Regions from separate parts of the Homo sapiens genome. Here region 2 is linked to region 1. Evidence: promoter capture Hi-C in human tissues and cell types (Jung and others, 2019). All regions are on one chromosome and are shown on one strand. The core of a region is centred on a gene start or on the middle of the fragment in contact, and the rest is flanking DNA. Distances in the headings are between cores, read along the strand shown. Region 1 holds the start of EIF4A1 (eukaryotic translation initiation factor 4A1). Region 2 holds the start of ATP1B2 (ATPase Na+/K+ transporting subunit beta 2).

What was found. Contacts are between HindIII fragments. The study calls those that stand out against the background at their distance.
Region 2: a contact is called between the fragment with the promoter of ATP1B2 here and the fragment with the promoter of EIF4A1 in region 1, in 2 of the 25 tissues and cell types used here (liver and ovary).

Annotation. Positions count from the first base shown.
Region 1 is chr17:7,569,301-7,575,822 of GRCh38, reverse strand. It overlaps EIF4A1 (eukaryotic translation initiation factor 4A1), which reads right to left and starts at 2,998. Exons shown (of 11, transcript NM_001416.4): 1 at 2,959-2,998; 2 at 1,515-1,563; 3 at 1,145-1,277; 4 at 565-704. The coding sequence starts at 2,981. It overlaps SENP3 (SUMO specific peptidase 3), which reads right to left. Exons shown (of 11, transcript NM_015670.6): 8 at 5,330-5,467; 9 at 5,059-5,142; 10 at 4,890-4,940; 11 at 3,854-4,450. The coding sequence ends at 4,340. SENP3-EIF4A1 (SENP3-EIF4A1 readthrough (NMD candidate)) reads right to left here. Exons shown (of 22, transcript NR_037926.1): 8 at 5,330-5,467; 9 at 5,059-5,142; 10 at 4,890-4,940; 11 at 4,344-4,450; 12 at 2,959-3,539; 13 at 1,515-1,563; 14 at 1,145-1,277; 15 at 565-704. SNORA48 (small nucleolar RNA, H/ACA box 48) reads right to left here and starts at 1,110; the gene lies at 976-1,110. RefSeq lists enhancers at 1,641-1,770, 1,233-1,988, 1,989-2,744, 3,251-3,320, 3,441-3,500 and 2 more and silencers at 1,911-2,050, 2,951-3,010, 3,021-3,080. The HindIII fragment of the contact is 10,064 bases long and covers 1-6,522 here.
Region 2 is chr17:7,646,996-7,653,517 of GRCh38, reverse strand. It overlaps ATP1B2 (ATPase Na+/K+ transporting subunit beta 2), which reads right to left and starts at 2,592. Exons shown (of 7, transcript NM_001678.5): 1 at 1,888-2,592; 2 at 16-144. The coding sequence starts at 1,999. RefSeq lists enhancers at 2,022-2,664, 2,939-3,439, 3,440-3,940 and silencers at 2,533-2,682, 5,429-5,638. The HindIII fragment of the contact is 20,754 bases long and covers 1-6,522 here.

The sequences.
Region 1 (6,522 bases), core at 1,749-4,248:
GCTACGAGGCATGTTCACTCTGAGAAAACTGAGAGCCAAGTGCCTTAGAATGGAGCTCTGCTGTAACTTCTTACATTATCCACACCCAGAATAATCACTGCCCCTGCCACAGAACATTTAAAAACATGCTCTGACATCAGTGTTGCAGCATGACCCAGGAAAAAGTCCAGCATTAGAATTGTGTGTGCCCCAGGCATGAAACAGCTCTGGCTATTAAGCAAGGGTGAAAAGGACTGTCCATCTGCTCTGACTACTGTAAGATCACCCCCACACCAAGGGATCTCTTAGCCCATAGTGAAGGTGCTTATTCAGAACACAGTCAAACTTGCCCAGCCAGCCAGGCTTCACCCAACAGCTTTCCCATTTGACTCAGGAAATGGGTGGAGGAAGCAATGGTTACGTTTGGGTAAGAAATAGCTTTTAATTAACCCAGCAGGTCTCGAGAGTGTTAGGGCACCCATGTCTTCCTCCCAAGGTGGTGATCAGAGAAGACTTCTCTGGTCCTTGGATTATACTCATCATCCCTAAATCAGCCCTGAAGGAGGGAATAGAAGCCACTCTTACCTGCTGAGCCAATTCTCGAGTGGGTGCTAGGACCAAGGCCTGGGTGGCTTTTAGATCTAATTCAATCTGCTGCAGAATCGATATGGCAAATGTGGCCGTTTTCCCAGTCCCAGATTGGGCTTGAGCAATCACATCATAACCTAAACAAATAAATTAGGAGTTGAATGTGGTAAAGAGCATACCCTTTGGGATATTCAAGTCCTAGGTTAATGAGGTCAATAAGCAACCAATGAACCAAGCATTTCATGGCTCACAAACTACCTTCCCAATCAACACAGTTACACAATGGGAACCAGATCAGAAACAAGGACCAGTTATTAACTCATCTAGTATTGCACACCAAGCTGGACTAGAAACATGGCTGTAGATGCAAATATAAGCTGGCTACAATACCACCTCTTTAAAGGAAACCTATGTGTCCAAGGCATGAACCAGGCATGGGCACGGATCAAAAGCCAAGCTGGGATGAACAAGGAGTTGCTTTGTCCCTGGCTGATATGAGATGGGCATCACCAACCAGATGCCACTCTACCCAGGTCAGGGACAGTCCACAATGTCTTCTGGGACTGAGAGGTCTCACCCTTGATACAAGGTAGAATGGCTCGCTGCTGGATGGCAGAGGGCTTCTCAAAACCATACGCGTAGATGCCACGGAGAAGGGACTCCGAGAGGTTCATGTCATCAAAGCTGTCAACAATCTCATTCCAGTTACTCTAGGGGATGCAAAGAAATTAAAGCTTGAGTCATGGAAAAGGTGGAGCTGAGCTGTAGTCTCCGAGCAAACAGAATCTGGTGCCTACTAACAAAAGCCTCAGAGCTTACAACCCTCCTCCCTTTAGGGAAACCAGCTGCTTCTAGATGATCTGGGAAATCAATCAAGAGGCCACTCTAACTCTATACGGCTGAAAGTTGTAATGGGGGAGGACAGAATTCCATTTCTCCAGTCTCACCTCGATGACGCCTTCGGGCTCCATCCCATCGGGGCCATTGTCTCTGGATCTGTTGGTTTAAAGCATAAGTTTTGTCCCCTGCCCGACCGAAGCACTCAGAAATCCTGACAGCCGGGCTCTGTCAGGAGTGGCCTGCATGATGCCATCAATCTGCTGTCCCAGATCCAACTCCCACCAGCTCCCAAAAAATACCCAAAGGAGGAGTTTCTATAAAACTGAGGCATTTGCCCCATGCAGGCAGCGGCTCAGGCCAGGCCACCCCCGACATAAGGGGGTGACCCTTTCTGAAGACAGGCCGGCAGGCGTGCCGCCGCGCTCACGGTGCCCAGAGGTGGTGCTTGCCGCCGGGTCCACGTGGGCCCGACCCAGCCGCTTAAAGCCCAAGCGCGTGCACCTCCCACCGCAGCACCAGCGCGCTGGAAGTCCCGCCCTTCACCTCCCAGATCGGAGGGTAGGACATCCCCTTCCCCCCACGTCATCCCGCCCGCGCCCTCCCCCACTCCCTCCAGCCGAAGCCCCCCCCTCGCGTTGCCCGGATGTGGGAGGCCGCGGGCGGTGGCGGCCTCGCGCACAATGAGCCCAAGCCGAGCTAGCAAAGGGGGAGATTGCACAACACTTAGAAGCGAAGCAGACTGGGGGAGGGGAACGCCTCAGGCCACCATGTGCTCGCTCCCTCGACCACCCGGCGGCGTCTCCCACCCCTCCATGAACAATCCACATCCCGCCCGCCCCCGTCGCGAAGTAGCGTCGCCCTCCCATACCTCAGGCCGCTCACCCCCGAAGGAAGGTGGACCTGCCCATCCGCAGTTTGCCAATAGCCCGGCTTGTGCGGCAAAATGGACCCGCCCGCCCGGCGCCGGGTGGGCTCCTGGTGCCTCACGCGGCCGCTCCTCGGGGTTAGGCTCAGTCCTGGCCGTCAAGAAAACCAGCACACTGAACGGCCGGTTTCTTCTCCCCGACCCGTGTTTTAGCCGCGACGAAGTGACTGGATCTAAGGACCAGGCACCCCCGCCTCTCGCGAGTGGTACCGTCAGAATGCTCCGGAACCCCGCGCGCCGTCCCTCCCCCGGCACAGGGAGGCAACCGGACCTGCCGGCTCTGGGCCACACATAGTGGCGGCCGCCTCCACCTTTCTTTCCCACGCCAGGTCGCGACCCCGTCTCGCCACTCAGCGCCGGGGCTTCGCGCATGGCACCGCCTCGGGTCGAGGCCTCGTAACAGACCTCGCACGCCTGACCCTAGCCGGGCTGTCCCTACCCTCCGCCTCGACCTGGTGGCCGCGTCGGCCGTGGGTCTTCCCCCTCGCCCCTCCAAGTCGGACCCTCCCCCCACCCGGTTCGGTTTCTCCCGCAACCCTGGTGGGCCTCTCAGCTACCCCCGGCGGGCCCGTCGGAAGGGGGCGGCAAAATAAGCAGCCACAATCTCTTGCAAATGCCTTTCTTACCGGGAATCCTGGCTCGCAGACATGATCCTTAGAAACTAGGGCGGAGTGCCCGCCTATCGACAACTTATAGAGCGCCCGACTCCGCCCCGGCCATCGCATTGGTTTGGCCGCCCCGGCCCCGCCTGCCGGCGCTCAGCAACTCGGCATGACGTTAGTTCCTAGTCGCTCCGGCCCGCAGGCACCATTGGATAACTCGAGTGCCTATCAAGGTGAAGGCCCGCCCCGCAGCCTCATTGGCTGGAGGGCCCGCCTTTCTCGCCGGTACGGAAGTGACATAGAAGAGTCAGGCCTCGAGGCCTGGCAGCCATCTTGGGGCCCTGCACTCTCACACGTGCGGAGGCGACAGTGCCTTGGTCATGTGGCTCCGTAGGCCCTATCACGCAAGGGGGGCGAGGTCTCAGCCTCCAGAGGCTTCCGGGCTCTGGGGGTTATCACTTCCCTTTACTTCTGCTCCCGGTCTCCACTGGACTCAAATGTTATTTGTTTTCCCCTGTAGCAGAGATGGATTCGACACTGCCTGGACGTGTGCCAGGGATGAAGGAATCAACAGCGATATCGTAGGGATGGGAGGATTCCCCTGGCTGGATGGTGGAGGGATGGAAGAAAACTGTAAAGGGCTTTGGGGTACTATCATGAATCCTGGTTGGTCCCCTCCCCAGTCCCTTGTGTCCAGTTCCCCAGCTTCCCTCTCGGATGCCCTTATTCTTGAGGCTTATCTACTTTCCCTCCTTCCTGCTCTCTGCTCCCATCTCGGGGATTTGTTTGGGTGAAGACAAGGTGTTGGCAGTGCCTGAGCCAGGGATGGAAAGCTGAACCCTTTAGTCTCAAGAGACTGGCTGGAAGGTCTGAGCTAAGCATATCCACTAATTTGAAGCCCCTTAAGGAAGACCACCACTTACGTATCAACAAAGGATCCTTTATTGACCAGAGCAGGACCGTGGCATTTATATATTTTTATATATATATATATATATATATATATATATATATATATATATATATATATATATATATATATATATATATAAAAGTTTGAAGATCTGGCAGGCAGTGATCCTATTGTCCGCCCACCACCCCCAGCACTGATTTCCTGCTCCCTGCACGGGGAAGGGGGAGGATGACTGCTCCACCCAGGCCACAGGGCCACACTCCCCTGCAAACAGAGGAAGAAAGGGGCTTTTCTGTAGCCACCCCCTGCACATCAGAAATCAACAAGTATTCTCTCAAAGAAAAAAAAATACAGAAATTGAAACATTTAAATATGAAAAACCAAAGGGAAGTGAGTGGGAAGAGGCAAGAGAGGAAAGGAACTGGAGTTTCTTGGGAAGGGACTCCCATGTCTCCCTTCCCATTTATGGGCTTGGGGTCTGGGGTACGAGGCTCACACAGTGAGTTTGCAGTGACACAGCTCCTTGTAGATCTGCCGACGAAGTTTGGGCATGTCCTGCTGGGTGAAGCTGAATGGCTGAGACAGGGCCAGATGCTTGCAGTACTGGGTGTTAACAAAGCAAGCCATGAGAAACCCCCCGTGTCAGGACCTGTGCTACACATTTCATATGAGATGTGTCTCCATCCTTCAGAGAACATCCCCAAAGGGAGCCAGGGTCCCACAGCCTGGGGTTCAAAAACAGCCTGACTCTAAAGCTAGTGTTCTTACTTGATAGAATGTTTTAGATGGAGAAAATACACTGAGTTGGAGGTTAGCAGGGAGCTCTATGAAGGCCAGAGGCCCAAGACTAGAGACCCAGTCCCAATGTGGGATGGAGAAGTCCAGAAGAGAACCAGTGAAGCCAGTGTTTTGGTGTTCTAAAACAGATTACTTCCTGCTCCACAACTGACTATGAGCCAAATGAGGGGATGCATAACAGCCTCCCGACCCTTTAACCCAACTGACTTCAGAGCTAGGGGAGGTGGCCCCATCATCTGCTTACCTGCAACACAAAAGCACCACAGTCACTGTCATTATTCTGCCTGGCCACATTCTAGAGAAGAGAAAGAAAGCAGGCCCTTCACATGGAGACTCCCAGGGGTAGGACTTCAATTTCTGCCTTCTACCACTGTCCCCACCAACACCCTATACCCCTCCCTCAGGAAACTCACCATTTTGAAGTAACCTTTCCAGCCCTGGTGGAAATCCAGTCGGTCTTTCTTTACCGCCTCTGCCTGTAGATACTTGGCAATATGCTATGTGGATGGGGGAAAAGAAAGTGATGCCCTAAGTTTCTCAATTGAACACAGTATGGTGGGTACAGTGCTGGCAGACACCATGCCCAGGTCGCCCCTCAAAGACCCAAAGCCCACCCTTCTTCCTGCAATGCCTTGCCACTGCACCGCCCCACATTTTGCCCATCTCTCTCCTACCCCCTCAAACCTTAGGGCAGCGGCGGTTTAGGGTACGCTGCGAGTCAAAATAGGTGATGGTGCGTCGCCTCACATCAACAGAGATGAGGGACCAATGCACCTCCAGGTGGATGGGGATTAGCAGTAGCTCCTTATTGAAGATGTCCACCTAAAGAGATAGTGCCACAGGTCAGGTACAACAAACAGAAGTCTTGCCTTTTGCCATGAAGGTTCTAGAGAGGAACAGAGACACAGGTAAGGGAACCAAGTGAAAGAACAGAAGACCCAAGGCCTAGATTGTGGGCAAGCTCAGGATCTGCATGTTTCGGTTCTTCGGGGTAAGGGAGGAAGGTCAGACAATGGAGGAGACATCAGAACGAACACTGGAGAACCCATGATGGGCAGGCGCTTTTCACACTTTAAAGGGAGAAGCACTTAGCAGCTAAGAACCCAGGCCCAGGATTCTGGAGCCTGCCAGAATTCAAATACAGCTCCTCCATTTACTGGCTTATGACAGTGGGCAACCTACTTAATAACCTTCTATACCTCAGTTTCCTTATCTGTCAGAGAGTGTAAATAGTAGTACCTACACCTCATCCATTTGATATGAGGATTAAACTAGTGACTATCCATAATACACTTAGAACAAGACACAGCACAAAGTAAACACGCAGTTAATGCTCATAACAATCCTACCGGGAAGTTCTCAACATTCAACCTAACAGATGAGGAAATTGCAGCTTGGAAAGTCGTGACTTGCACAAGGTCATGAAAGAAAGAAATGGCAGAAGTGGGACTCAAACTCAGTATGAAGAAGGCCAACATGTTTTTCACTGTACGTCACCACCCTTCCCTCTACTGCAAGAAGATCCCTGAGGGTGTAAGCTCTTGATTTTGAGGACTGAAATTAAGGAATGCCGGAGCCAATCATCCTGCCTAGCTGTAGAAATTTCCTGGCCTTTGAATGGGAGGGCAGGGAAACCAGAAGAGAAAAGAACTCTTCATTTTCCTCCCCCAACCTGTTCCTCTCCCACTTTTCCCGTTACATAGGCCAAAAACCTAGGCATCATCCTCCATTTCTTTTTCTTCATTTCCCACATCCAACCTGCGGAGGAAAAAACAAATCTTTTTTTTTTTTTTGAGACGGAGTCTTGCTCTGTTGCCCAGACTGGAGTGCAGTGGCGTGATCTTGCCTCACTGCAAGCTCCACCTCCTGGGTTCATG
Region 2 (6,522 bases), core at 1,343-3,842, 78 kb before region 1:
AGCCTCCACACTCACCCGGTGTGGCCAGTCGGTCCTGGTACTTGGGGGTATGGTCGGAGACAGTCTGCAGCATCACCCACATGGTGAGGGTGAACATGGCGGTGAGGAACCCATAAAAAACGAGGTAGAAGAGGAGGATAAAGGCTAGGGAGGAGGAAACAGGGTCAGCAGGGCCCAAGGTTCCCACCATAACCTCAACTATCCCCACACACCCCTCTACCCACTCTGAAGTTCTGCACTGGGACTGATCACAGAGCCACAGGGATGTCTTAGAGCCTTCCTCTGGAGGCAAAATGAGACAAACTGGAAACAGGCAGTTGTGTCTGGCTTCTAGCCATGACTCCCAGCCCCCTCCTGGTCCTAGGGCACAGTGAAGCCCGACCTTGTGGAGGTCTGTTATTTTGCCTCCAATTACATTTCCAACTTCTCAACCATGCATAGTCCTGACAAGGCACACATCTGTTACCTCTGCATTCGTACTCATGCTTAAAGCTGTGCTAGCATGGTGCCTTTTAAAGCGGGTACTGGCCACCATTCACAAGCAAACCCTCATACCACCCCGCAGAGACTGGACCCTCAGATTTGAATAGCAACATCTCTCTCCTGGTGCCCTTCAGAAGCCAAACTTTGAACACAGTTCCTGAAATGAAAGACCTAACACTAGCCTAGCTACAAATCTCTCAGAGACGGCTTGTTAGAACCTTCAACAGTCACCCCACCCTCAGTTCACACCCAGCACCCTGGGCAGAGGCAGGGAGGAAAGGCAGAATCTCCCACAGCCTTCCCTTGGTGGGATCTCTCCATGGCTCCCCCGCCTGAAGTAAGGACCCAAGGGCCGGCTGTTCCCACCACCCTGGACTCCCAATCCTTCCATCTCAGAGGACACTTCTTCCATGAAGTCCTCTGGCTCTCCCAAGCATTGCTGGATTCTTCTCATCCCAGGGGCTGGAGTTTGAGTTCCCTGAGGGAATGGATTGCATGGGACCCACTTCGTGTAGGCCCCGAATGGGTGGACTGATGGGGACGGTGCCCAGTGTGGAAAGATTGTAAATCGTGTCACACAGTGTCCTCTGTCCCCTGTGTCTCAACGTCCCAGCTTGACCATCCCTCTTGGAAGAATTCCACCCCTCACCTGCACCTGTGCCGGTCACCAGACCCCCTCCACCCCCCCAACCCCCGACCACTACAGCTCCCTGAGTCCTGCCATGGTCAGCCTGGGGAGGCTTCCAAGTCATCCGACTGTCACAGACACCTGGCTGGCTGATGCACACAAATCACCACAGCGACCACTCCTCCCTCCGTCACCGACATGGGAGCAAAACCTGCAGCCTCGGTAAAACTCATACTATCAGCAGCCCCCCAACCCACAAAGCAGTCCCAGAAGGCTCCCAAGGCCAGGCGGTGGGATACAGACAACTTCCGCCGTGAAGAACCCCCCTAACACACCCCCCAAGACCCGCCCCCTCATGAACGTTCCCAGGGTCCAGGGGGTGGGCACGAGCTAAAAATAGACGGGGCTGCGGAGCTAGTGAGAGCCGGAGGGAGGGAAGGGGCGCTCTTTGGAGGTGGGGGACGCCCGTGTGGAGCGGACAGGCCCCGAGAGGGAGTGTGAGCGCCGGCGCGGACACGCAGGCGGAGCTGGCGACCCCCCGCCCGAGGGGGCTCCGCGGGGGGCGGGAAGGCGGCTGTGACCTACTTTCTCCGCCTCCGCACGGCCAGCCGGGGAGATTAGACTGGCGATTCGGCCCCCTCCCAGCCCAGAGCCCGGCAGGGAGGCTGGACGCCGGGGACCCGGGAGGGGAGCTGGGGCCGCGTCGGCGGGACCCTGCGCCCCCGAGGCGTCGCCCCGCGGCTTTCCCCCGCCCCTTGCGTGCCGGCCCTGCGTACCCCAGCTGGTCCCGGTGCGGCCCATAAACTGGTGCGTCCTCGGGTTCCACACGAACTCCTTCCACTCCTCAACCACCTGCCCGCAGCTCTTCTTCTCTTTCTGGATGACCATCTTGGTGGCGCGGGGCGAGTCCGGGCGCGGGGCGGGGGGTTGCGGAGAAGCGGGGGCGCCGCGCGCTGAAGCCCTCCACACACCCAAAAGCACGGGGAGCGAAGGCGGCGCGGGCAAAGGAGACCCCCCTCAGATATGCAGCTGCTGCAGATTCCGGGGTGCACGACCACGCGCTGCGGGGTGCTGGCAGCGCGGCGGAAGATGCACCGATCCTAGGCCCCCCAACTGCGATGAAAAGGGGTGCTGTCAGAGCAGGGGAGAATAACAAGAGGAAGGGGTATGAATGCAGCTTCACCCCCCACCAAACCGTCTAGAAACAAAACGAAATGGGGTGCAAAAACAGACGGCTACAAAAACCGAGCAGAACGCAGAAAAAAAGCGGGGTACAAAAAGGCAGAGAGAGGTGGGGGAGGGGGCCGCCCCGAAATCCAAGATGCAAAGAAGCTGTGGAACGAAGCTCAAGGCTCGCTCCGCCAAGCGGAGACCACTGCACCGGTGGTGGCTCAGCCGCGGGGGTGGGGCGGGGACGCGCAGCTGGGGGACAGCCAGGGATGGGGGGCCCCCCAGGCGGAGGCTCCGCTCCTCAGCAGTGCGAGGCCCGCGGTCGCCGAGCGCGGTCTTTATACTCTGCGGCTCTGGGGGTGCCCGCCCCCTTCCCACCCCCAGAAGCTCCGCCTCCTCGCCACTGGCCCAGGCGACCTCATACATATGTAAATATGGAGAGGTTGGGCCCGCCCCCCTGACTTCTCTTAGGGACCTAGCTGTCTCTCCATTACCCCCACCCCAGGTACTAGACTGGGACAGGGTGGGAGGAAGAGATAGAGGGCGTGTCCGGGCGGAGTAGAGGGAAAGATAACCCCAGAGAAACACAACGGCAGAGAGAGAAGCCGATATATGCTCAAAGGTGGGGGCCCCAGGCAGGGAGTTAGAAAGAGACTAAGATACAGATGCGGCGGAAGAGTCCGGGAGCAGATGGGGCAGAATGTCAGAGGAATAAAGAGCTAGAGATCAAGAAAGAGAGCGAAGAGACCAGCCGGGAGGCTGGCCGAGCCAGGAGGGAAGCTAGGACAGGCCCCGCAGAGATGGATAAAGGCCACCCCCAGAGGGACGTTCCCCTGTTGGGAGCCGCTACCAGTCCCCCAGACGCCTCCTTCTCCAATCTCACAGCCCCTGTCCACACCACCTGGCTCTGTCCACGTGCAGAGGCTTCCCCATCTTCCCATCACGTCTCCCTGAAGCCCTCTCAACACCACATTCCCAGTCCCCAGCACTGCCCTGAGATCCCAGCCCTGCAGCCAGGTCTACTTCGGTTCTCTGCCTCCTGGCACCCCCACCCCCACGTCGGAACTCACCTCCTTATGTGTCTACTTGGGTCAACAAACATTTATTGAGCACCTCTATAGACTGTGTGCTGTAGCCCTGGGGAGGCCAGAGAGGTTACACTGAAGCCACATCTCTCACGGGGCTCACAGTCTAGGGCGGGAGTACACTTGCTCTACATACCACATGTTAAGAATCATTATCTCAAGCCGGGCACGGTGGCTTATGCCTGTAATCCCAGCATTTTGGGAGGCCGAGGCGGGCAGATCACGAAGTCAGGAGTTCGAGACTAGCCTTGCCCACATGGTGAAACCCCGTCTCTACTTAAAAATGCAAAATTAGGCCAGGCGCGGTGGCTCACGCCAGTAATCCCAGCACTTTGGGAGGCCGAGGTGGGTGGATCACGAGGTCAGGAGATCGAGACCATCCTGGATAACACAGTGAAACCCCGTCCCTACTAAAAATACAAAAAAAAAAAATTAGCTGGGCGTCGTGGCGGGAGCTTGTAGTCCCAGCTACTTGGGAGGCTGAGGCAGGAGAATGGCATGAACCCGGGAGGCGGAGCTTGCAGTGAGCCGAGATCGCTCCACTGCACTCCAGCCTGGGCAACAGAGCTTCCGTCTCAATAAAAAAAAAAAAAAAAATTAGCTGGGCATGGTGGTGGGTGCCTGTAGTCCCAGCTACTCAGGAGGCTGAAGCAGGAGAATTGCTTGAACCCGGGAGGCGGAGCTTGCAGTGAGCTGAGATCACGCCATTGCACTCCAGCTTGGGCAATAGAGTGAGACTTCGTCTCAAAAAAAGAGAGAAAAAAAAAATCATTATCTCGGCCAGGCCCAGTGGCTCATGCCTGTAATCCCAGCTCTATAGGAGGCCGAGGCCAATGGATCACCTGAGCAAGGGAGTTCGAGACCAGAGGTCAGGAGTTCAAGACCAGCCTGGCCAACATGGTGAAACTGCGTCTCTACTAAAACTAAAAAAATTAGCCGGGTGCGGTGGTGGGAGCCTGTAATCCCAGCTACTCAGGAGGCTGAGGCAAGAGAATTGCTTGAACCTGGAAGGTGGAGGTTGCAGTGAGCCGAGATTGTGTCACTGCACTCCAGCCTGGACAAGAGCAAAACTCCATCTCAAAAAAATGGTATGCATTGAATGAATGAATGAATGAATGGGAGTTGGGGCTGGCCTCTGAAGGGTAGGTAGTCTTCCAGGACAAAGGAATGAAAGGCACAGAGGTGTGAAGTCAGGAGTAAGCACAGTCTACCCCAGGAGTGGCTGGCTTGGCTCCAGGAGAGAACTAGTCGGAGACTAGTGGGAAAGGAGGTTGGGGACACAGCATGGGTGTGGATTGCGGAGTACCCTGCAGGTTAGACTGAAGAATCAGGACTCTATCCTACAGGCTAATAAGAAGCCACTGAAGAACTTTCAGCTGAGGAGTGGCCTAATTAAAGCTGTATTTTGAGAAAATTAATCCCGAATCTGCTGCAGAATAGACTGAAGCATGGCCAGCTGCATAATTGTCAGGATCCAGTGCAAAATGGAAATGCAGGGACCCTTGTTCAAAACCTAGGGGAAAAAATGCCCTTAGAGGCACTAAAATATAAACTTTTTTTTTTTTTTTTTTTTTTTTTTTTTTTGGAGACAGAGTCTCACTGTGTCACCCAGGCTGGAGTGCAGTGGCATGATATCTGCTCACTGCAGCCTCTGCCTCCAGGGTTCAAGCGGTTCCTCCCTCAGTCTCCCGGGTAGCTGGGACTACCACCACGCCCGGCTAATTTCTGTATTTTTTTGTAGAGATGGGATTTCACCATGTTGGCCAGGCTAGTTTTGAGTTCCTGACCTCAAATGATCCACCTACCTTGGCCTCGCAAAGTGCTGGGATTACAGGTGTGAACAACCGCACCCAGCCTAAACTATTTTCCTTTCATCCATAGTTCTTTCAGCTTCTCATGGTTTTTTGTTTTAGAGACAGGGTCTTGCTATGTCACCCAGACTGGAGTGCAGTGACGCGATCTTGGCTCACTGCAACCTCCACTTCCCAGGTTCAAGCAATTCTTCTGTCTCAGCCTCTTGAGTAGCTGGGATTACAGGCACAGGCCACCATGCCCGGCTAATTTTTGTATTTTTACTAGAGACAGGGTTTTGCCGTGTTGGCCAGGCTGGTGTGGAACTCCTGGACTCCTGGACTCAAGGGATCCACCCACATCAGCCTCCCAAAGTGCTGAAATCACAAGTGTGAGCCACCGTACCCAGCATGTCCATGAACGACCTTCCAGTCTCAGCCTCCAGGTAGTTGGGGCTGCAGGCACACATCACCACACCTGGCTTTCTCATGGTGTTTTTTTCTTTGCTATTTAATGTTTACATGTTTTTTTTTTCTTTTTTTGAGACGGAGTCTCACTCTGTCGCCCAGGCTGGAGTGCAATGGCGCGATCTTGGCTCGCTGCAACTTCCACCTCCCGGGTTCAAGCGATTCTCCTGCCTCAGCCTCCTGAGTAGCTGGGATTACAGGCGTGCACAACCACGCCTGGCTAATTTTTGTATTTTTAGTAGAGATGGGATTTCACCATGTTGGTCAGTCTGGTCTGGAACTCCTGACCTCGTGATCCGCCCACCTCGGCCTCCCAAAATGCTGGGATTACAGGCGTGAGCCACCGCACCCGGTCTCTTTCTCTTTCTTTTTTAGAGATGGGGGGTCTCTTAAAAAACAAAGATGGAGGTCTCTGTGTTGACGAGGCTGGTCTCAAACTCCTGGCCTCAAGCAATCCTGCCATCTTGGCCTCCCAAAGTGCTAGGATTGCAGGTGTGAGCCCCGCCTAACATTTTTCTATCTTCAGCTTCCTGATAAGGAAGGAAGGACTGAAAGGAAAAGGAACTATGGGTTGCCTCAGCCTTCCCTTTCCTTCTATGTCATTGTTGCCAGCGTAAGTGGCCAAAACAGGGACATGACTAAGAAAAGATCTGGTAAGGTATGGTGATCATCCATGCCTCCTACAATGCCATTGCTTCCTTTCCACGTTCATAGCCAAGTTCTGCTTCCAGTGGAGAGTGTGGTCTCTCAGCTGTCAGCACTCCCACTTACTCTTTTTTTTTTTTTTTTTTTTTGAGATAGTCTCTTATTCTGTCACCTAGGCTGGAGTGCAGTGGCGTGATCATGGTGATCCAATCCTCCCAGCTCAGCCTCCTAAGTAGCTGGGAGTAGCCCAGTG